Linked DNA regions of Homo sapiens: all the other regions are linked to region 1. Evidence: promoter capture Hi-C in human tissues and cell types (Jung and others, 2019). All regions are on one chromosome and are shown on one strand. The core of a region is centred on a gene start or on the middle of the fragment in contact, and the rest is flanking DNA. Distances in the headings are between cores, read along the strand shown. Region 1 holds the start of RNF180 (ring finger protein 180). Region 2 overlaps RGS7BP (regulator of G protein signaling 7 binding protein). Region 3 has its middle 57 kb from the start of SHISAL2B.

The links. Contacts are between HindIII fragments. The study calls those that stand out against the background at their distance.
Region 2: a contact is called between a fragment that was not itself captured here and the fragment with the promoter of RNF180 in region 1, in 2 of the 25 tissues and cell types used here (dorsolateral prefrontal cortex and mesenchymal stem cells).
Region 3: a fragment that was not itself captured here is called in contact with the fragment with the promoter of RNF180 in region 1 in 1 of the 25 tissues and cell types used here (H1 embryonic stem cells).

What each region holds. Positions count from the first base shown.
Region 1 is chr5:64,164,569-64,167,268 of GRCh38, forward strand. It overlaps RNF180 (ring finger protein 180), which reads left to right and starts at 1,275. Exons shown (of 8, transcript NM_001113561.2): 1 at 1,275-1,385. The HindIII fragment of the contact is 11,374 bases long and covers 1-2,700 here.
Region 2 is chr5:64,595,778-64,598,477 of GRCh38, forward strand. It overlaps RGS7BP (regulator of G protein signaling 7 binding protein), which reads left to right. Exons shown (of 6, transcript NM_001029875.3): 5 at 2,588-2,658. Among named protein-coding and RNA genes, the nearest start is that of RGS7BP, 91 kb to the left of the region's middle. The HindIII fragment of the contact is 5,660 bases long and covers 1-2,700 here.
Region 3 is chr5:64,631,846-64,634,545 of GRCh38, forward strand. No RefSeq gene overlaps it. Among named protein-coding and RNA genes, the nearest start is that of SHISAL2B, 57 kb to the right of the region's middle. The HindIII fragment of the contact is 4,791 bases long and covers 1-2,700 here.

The sequences.
Region 1 (2,700 bases), core at 25-2,524:
CTTGTCTTATTCCTGATTTTAGGTGAAAATGTTCATTCTTTCAAGATTAAGTATGATGTTAATTATGGATTTTTCAGAGGCTCTTTATTAGGTTGAAGAAGTTTCCTTTTATTCCTAGTTGAAGTGTTTATATCAAGAAAGGGTGTTAGATTTTGTCAATTGCTTTTCCTTCATCTTTTGAGATGATCATGTGGTTTTTACATTTAGTCTATTTAAAGTAGTGTGTTACATTAATTTTGTATGTCACACCAAACTTGCATTCCTGAGATAAATCCTACTTGGTCATGTTGTATAATTTTTTAAAATGTTGCTGGGTTTGGCTTGCTAGTATTTTGTTGAGGATTTTTATGTTACTATGCATAAGGTATATTGGTCTGTAGTTTTCTCGTGATGTCTTTCATTTTGTTCTTTATTTCCTTGTATTTCCAGATGGGAAGTCACTGCATACAGCCCTAATCTTAGGACAAGTTTCCAAGTAAGCCACTTCAGGCAAATAAAAATTTCTGTATCTAGCAGAGAAACAAAGCTGTATATTTTTTTTGAGGTTCCCTCCTAGCTCCCTTCCCTCTCCTCAAGCCAACTAATAAAACTTGCTTTTTATATTCCGAATCTTATTTATAGTCGTTTGATCATCTATGAGGCACCTGCAAGTCAACATTTACTGCACGCGGCCCCCTCACTCCCTAAATAAGCACTTTTGATTTACCGCCAGTCATCAACTCACCTCCCAACTGCAATTTGTCAAGAGTAGTGTCAGGTGCACTTTAGTGGTTAATCTCCTTGCACATCGGTGGAACTTTAGGCACAAGAAGGTAAGCAACGAAGATAGTGATATACGAAGGGAAAACTAAACCCAGGTAGCGTTGCCAGCTTAAAAGTCCTAGGCATGGGGATGGGTGGATGGGACGCCGGCCTAAGATTTTAGCAGGGAACAGACCCAGTAGTTGGCTTGGATCTCTTAACTCCAGAAAAGGCCGAGTGAGGACAAGGGAGACCACAGGGATAATTTCTGTGGCTCTGGTAAGGGGATGACAAGGGAGAAAAACTTTCCCACGGTTCCGTCTGGCCCGCGGCGCTTGTCTGCCTGCGCGGGGTCAAAGCCCGGCGCCGCCCACGCGCGGCTCGGGTGGGAACCCGCAGACGTGGGGCGAGCAGGGCCGCTGGCTGTGGCGGGCGAGCGCCGGGGCGCCACGTCCGAGGCCGCGGGGTCGGGGCTGCAGGCACAGCTCGAGCGCTTTCCGCGGGGTTTGGCTCCTGTCGCTTCCCGTCTCGCCGAACCGGCATCGCCGCCGCCGGAGCCGCAGCGAGTCCTCAGAGCCTGGCTGCTGGCGGCCGGGAGCGCCGGGACGGGGCGCGAAGCCGGAGGCTCCGGGACGTGGATACAGGTAAAGGCCGGCGGGTCGGAGTCGGGCGGGGCGCGGCGGCGGCGCCTCTCGGAGGGACCTGGCCTCGGCCGGGCCCTACCCAGCCGCGGTGGCCCGGGCCCCCACGTTGGCCCAGGCGGGGACGTGCCAAGGGGCTGGGCTAGGGTTGCCGCTGGCCTGGCCGCCTCTCGCCCGGCGGGCCTCAGGTGACGCGGCCGCGGCTTAACTTTCGCACCTGAGGCTCTCGGAGCGGCCTCGGGGCGCGCCCACCTGGAGGTTGGAATTACACAGGGTCGAAAAAGCTGAGTCCTGGAGGCGAGGCGCTGTAGGTGTGGCGGAGGAGGCCGGGGAAGGTGGGGTGGGTGCCAGGGGTCCAGTACTGAACCCTCTCCAGGTCTGAGGTGGGGAACTGCGTCTTGTTTAATTTCGGAGCTTGTGGGGACCACACAGCCCCTTCCACGGCCGATTCCCTCTGCACGGTTCCACTTTCCTTTGTCTAGCCCATTTCAGTATCGGCGTCGCAGTCGCTTTTGTTGCAGCCTTGGGTCCGGAGTGTACGACTTTCTGCTAGGCAGAGGTCATAAGCTCTGAAATCCATCGGGCGGAGGTGGGGAGATGGTCCTTTGGTGGGAAATTACTAGTGCTGTTATGAACACTAACACATATATTCCACCTTGTTTTTTTTCGAGATAGTGCTCATTATTTTCGTAGCATCTAACAGTTGTAAGTGTATCTGTGAGAGCATTCATTAGTTAACTTCAAAGGAGCATTATGCGGTCGGGTTACTATTATCCCATTTTATAGACCAGACAGCTGAGGCACCCAAGAGGCAAAGTGATTATATCAAAACTAAGCAGTCAATCCTTGTGGAATCTGTGATTAGAACTTGTCTGACTAGAGTTGTCCTTGGTCCAGTTGGTCTCTTAGTCTCAAACAAAATTTAGCTCTCAAAGATGGACGGTCTGATGCTCATTGTATTTTTATATACTCATTAATTGTTAAAACCTTTCTTAAAAAATAGAGTCAATTCCTTTCAGACTCCTGTTATAGTACCCCTAAAAGTGATACTTGAAAGATCATAAACACTTCAGTTTCAAATGAGTGGTATCATTTGAGTCGTAGAAAGAAGTAAAATTCCGTTGTCTTTTATCTGTCAGACTTTCGTCTCTTGTATAAATGTAGTGCCACTGGCAGCCCAAAGATACTTTGGTGACAATGGCAGAAACTCTAAATATTTATTTAATAAGTAGAATCGAGGAGGCGAGCTGTTAGGTTTCCCGGAATATTTGAGTAAGTTTTTTCTCATAAAGAATCAAAAATTTAGGAGAATAGTCAT
Region 2 (2,700 bases), core at 85-2,584, 430 kb after region 1:
TTAGAAATGTAACACACAATGGCATTTATAGCCATTGTGGTTCTACTTTCAGATTGTGATATAATTCTAAAGCTAATTACCGAATTTCTGTGTTTATAGAAAATTGGAGCATGTGGTAATTATGTGCTATTAATAAAACTTGGATTTTGTATAAGCTTGGAAATGCAACAATTCAAACAATAAAGCTGTTTGGCACCGTTTGATGGCACTATAGACAAATGATGAGGGAGTGATTTATCTTAATTTATAAAGTAGAAAATTCTTAGCTCTGTTCCCAGGGAAAAAAATATCTGCTGAAATGCCATATCAGGGCATAAACATCAGTGAAACCATTTTACTTTGCAGACCTTAGACAGCAGCTATATTCACGCCTTATAAGCTTATAAGAAGGGATGGCAGTAAGAGTAGGATAGTTAAGGCCCACAACGTTGGCAATGTTTCAGTTCAGCCTGAAAGCCCAGATTCTGGTCAAAGGAGATGGAGGTGGGCACAGTGGACCTGGTCCAGGATGTGGCTAACTCCGTTCTCCCTGGCTGTCTGCCTTGAGAGATCATGGGTCTCAAACTGGACTGCACAGTTAAGTCATCAGGAGGGAATTCTTAAAATACTGATGGCTGGGCCCCACTATAAGCCAACTGAATCAGGCTCTCTTGGGGTGAGACCTGGGCTTAAGGTGATTCTCCTGTGCAGCAGCCAAGGTTGAGAATTGGTGCTTTATTAGAGGAGACAGTGCCTCAATCCCCCATGTTGCATTCCTAGCCCTTTCTCACCCATTCCATCTGTCCTTGAGATCTTACATGAAAACAGACTGTGCCTTGCACTTGTGGAGGTGGGGCCACACTTCCTTTCTCCTGCCCTCCTCTCTCACTTGATCAGCATGCAGCCCACAGATACATCCTCACACCTCGCACCCATGAGAGTGGATTTGGAAAGTTTTTACAGGTATATTTCCGCAGATCCTCAAGGCTGCTTTCCCTTCCTTTTCCAATCAATTATTACTGAGACTTGAGTTCCTCTTCACATATCAGTCAATACTTGAAAAGGAGCTCCCATGAGGTCTCCAGAATTACCCTAAGAAAACGATCCTCAAACCGTGCTCAACAGAACTGTGGTGTTTTGTGAAATGGACTGAGAGGTTTCATACCTAAAATTAAATGGTGACTGTCTTTCCTCAAATAACAGAAGAAAAATAAGTGGATAGAATTTCTTCAACTTTAAGATGATCTTCCCCACAAAACTTTCCTAAACCCATGGTGCCTGCCAATGCTTGCCTATCCTCAGTTAATTAAAGGATGCATCTGCTTTTTGTACCAAATTATGTTCCTGGCTATTTTAAATGAAATCTGCCCCTATGTCCTGGGGTCTCAAGAGCACTTTCTCCAATGCACAACCATCTGGACGTGTGTAGGGACAATTGTCCCAAGGGTTTCAAAAGATGAGTTCTCCCCTACCTTAGACTAGAAGCCTCCTGAGATGGCTTCCTGCTTTACAATTCTGGGGTTTTATGACCATGCATGCTCTGAGATGAGGGAAGATATTGGATGTATGCAGTGGCATTGCATGCTGTGTGCTGAAGTCAGGAAGTGTGGGAGGACGGTCCATGCTAAAGGAAGGCCCAGCTGTACCCAGGTGGGGTTGTTTTCCCTCTTGTTCCCATACTGCGCCCCTTTCTGTTTCATCCATTGTAAGGAGCTCTTTTCTGGAAGTTTTAGAATTTGTTACTCTTTCATTATTCCAAGTCAATGTAATAAGTGTTGGTCCTGGTGAACGCTTAATACCTGAGTTATGCTGAATTCCAATCGTAGTAACAAGAGACTATTAAAACCAAGCAGAAGATGGAATTGGAGGCCATTGTCTTCAATGAAACAACTCAGAAAACAAAATAGCACATGTTCTCACTTGTAAGTGGGAGCTAAATGGTGGGTACACATGGACATGGGGTGTGGAATGATAGACATCAGAGACTCAGAAGGGTGGGAAGGTGTGGGGGGTGAGAAAATACTCAGTGGGTAAAACGTACATTATTGGGGTGATGGATGCCCTAAAAGCACAGACTTCACCACTATGCAATATGTCAAAGTAACAAAACTACACTTGTACTCCTTAAATTTACACAAATTTTAACAAACGAGCAAATAACAGCAAGTGAATGTACATAGCCACTATAGTCCTCTGACCATAAAGCCTTGATAGCACCATCACCCAGCCTCAAGTTTGCCCTGGGTAGCCCTGTTGCTCCAGTTGTACTTCCTTGGCCTCTCTTTGCAAATCTAAAGCACTGTCCTCGTGACCAATGGCTCTTCTCTGATCTCAGCCAGGTTCGACTGGAGGCAGAGATGAGGGCTCCTGCAGGAGAATGCCCTGTAGAAATGTTTGGCAGAATGGCTCTCACTTTTTCCTGAGCCAACCCATCTCAGATTTTTTTTCTTGTAAAAGCAAAATAAATTCAATATTTGCCTACTGGAAACTAGAGCTAGTGCAATTAGACACAGACCCTCATCTTTCAGTTGTCTCATATAACAGATTGTTTGAGATTTCATTTTGAAAATTTACAGCTGATTATTCTGTCTTTTTATCAATTTTACAGAGACATGAGAGAAATGAAAAACCTTTTAAGCAAACTCAGGGAAACTATGCCTTTACCATTGAAAAATCAAGGTGAGTCTTGTCACTTCTCTTTGAGGCAGAGGATGTTTTTAA
Region 3 (2,700 bases), core at 39-2,538, 470 kb after region 1:
TTGAGAAGGTGAGAGAGAGTGTAGGATCCACTTTATAAGTAGAGGACTTGCCCTTAGGTAGGGACTCAAACAGGAATTTTAAATTCCTGTTTCTAAATGCCACCAGTATATTAAAATCCCTTGAGATTTTTTTTGAAAGAAAAAAATAGATGTCCCACAGTAGATTAATTAATTCAGAATCTCTAGAAGTGGGATTTTGGCATCAGCATTTTAAAAATTCTACATATAGCTCGTGTTGATAATCACTGATGCATTGAAATGGGAGTGAAGTCAGGTTGTGTGAATACAAATACAGGTAGTCTGATCTACTTGGTGATGGAAGAATGAGGCAGTTCTCCTCTGATTGCTTCTATTTTCTCAATGAAATAAGAAACAAAGTCAGAGCTGAGAGGGTGCTGTTGATTTGAAGAGAGAGAGTTAGGGCATGAAATAATTTTTGGAAGTAGGAAAGTAAATTTACTCATGAAATATAATACAATTGCAAGGATTTGCAGAGGGCCCACTTGAGACTTCTGGGGAAAAATGTAATATGAGACTAAATTAGCACAGCTGTGTTTCTTCTCTAGCCACATCCATCCGGGTACAGAAGGAGTAGGTGGAGATGTTCTTTTGTGACATTTGAAGCAGTTGCCACCACTTGACTCCTGACTGAAGTTACAAAGTGGAGGCGGCTGCCTTTGGAAATTTCCTACCTCCCGCCTGCTTCCTCAAACTACTCCAGGCTGACCTAACCCTATCAGTATGATCTAAAAAGAGGAGCTAGTAAACCTAAATGGAATTCTAATTGGTAGAAGAGTTGAAGGAAAGGAAAGGAGATTTTAACAGTACCTTACTGAGCCATAATTTACATGAAGTACAAAATGTACAAATCTTATTGCTTAACAATTTTGCAATTTCTATACACCAACATGTGATCACCACTAAATCAAGATATAAAAACTTTTTTTTTTTTTGAGAGAGAGAGAGAGAGAGAGAGTCTCACTGTCACCTAGGCTGGAGTACAGTGGCACGATCTCGGCTCACTACAACCTCTGCCTCCCGAGTTCAAGCAGTTCTCATGCCTCAGCTTCCCGAATAGCTGGGATTACAGGCATGCATCATAGGCCAGGCTAATTTTTGTATTTTTAGTAGAGATGAAGTTTTGCCATGTTGGCCAGACTGGTCTCAAACTCCTGACCTCAAGTGATCTGCCCGCCTCAGCCTCCCAAAATGCTGAGATTACAGGCATGAGCCACTGTACCCGGCCAATATATAAAAACTTCGATCTCATTCTATGAAGTTCTCCTCGTAACCCTATAAAGTCAACATTCCCCTACAAAAGTTAAACAATATCGTGATTTCTGTGCCCACAGATTAATTGTGCTTGTTCTTTAACTTCGTGTCAATGGCACCATACAATATGAACTCTTGTGTCTGACTTCTTCTGCGTAAGGTTTTTGAGAATAATCTACATTGTTTCATGCACCAGTAGTTTGTCCTTTTGTTACTATTGAGACTGCATTGTATAAATAGACCACAGTTGTTTATCCATTGTCCAGTTGATGGATATTTGTATGTTTCCAGGTTTTTGCTTTTATGAATAAGGTTGCTGTGAATGTTCTTTTTGTGGACATATGTACTCATTTCTTCTCGATATCTATCTAGAAGTAGAATATAATCTGAAATTTCCATGTTATAGAATAGGTATATATTTAATTTCATTGGAAATAATTTTCCACAGTTGTCTATTTTATACTCCAACAGCAATGTCAGAGCATGCCGGGTGCTCCACATCTTCACCAATAATTGATATTATTAGTCATTTTGGCTGACAAAATTGTAGTGGATGTGAGAAATAATATTTCTATTTTTGTCATTTTATTTTACTAGTCACTGACTTGAAGCTCAGAGAAATAATATTTCTGAAGAAGATATTCAGGAGTCACTTGTCCACTCTAGACATGGCACATCAGGTCAAAGTGCAACAACTCCACACAAGAAGGAAATGGATCTGAGAACCTTTATCCTGAAAGGCAAGCTGGTATGTCTTAGAAGGGTGGCAGTGAAAAAAGGACTCTGCACAGATTGAGTAGAACATGAGAGTTGGGGGGAAAGGCAGCCACATCTTCTGAAGCCTGTTAAAAATATATATTAAACGATACTTGTCAAAATATGGTATAGACTTTATTCAGGACCATCATGGTAGGTACAGGGACCACTGCAATGGGATCTTGCAGTGTGGGAGAGAGACTGGGCTCAACTCTGAAAACACCATGGGCAAGTGGGAATTTATAGCCAGGGAGCAAGGTGGGGGTCAGAGGATGGAAAATTACTGAGAGGAAGCATCAGGGGTAGGAGGGATTCTGGCTAAACCAATCTAACAGGATTCTTGCTGAAGACCAGCCAGGCTGATCAGACATCATCCAGAAGATGGTGGAGAATGATCAAGGATGATCAGAGGTCAAGGATGAAGGGTTATTGCTAAACTGACATAGCAAGTTCTTTGCTACACCTGGATTTTTACAAGGAAGTACACAGATGGGCCTAGGAAGAAGCTCAGAAGCCTGACTAAAGTTTGGCCAAGCAAAGAATCTTTGTAAAGTTCTAATGTGTGACACAAGGGATTGAGTTAGCTAAACAAAAGCACAACTCTTGACTTTTGTCTCCTCTCCTGTCCTCTCCTCCTCCCAACAAACATTCTCCCAACTCAGTATTGAATCC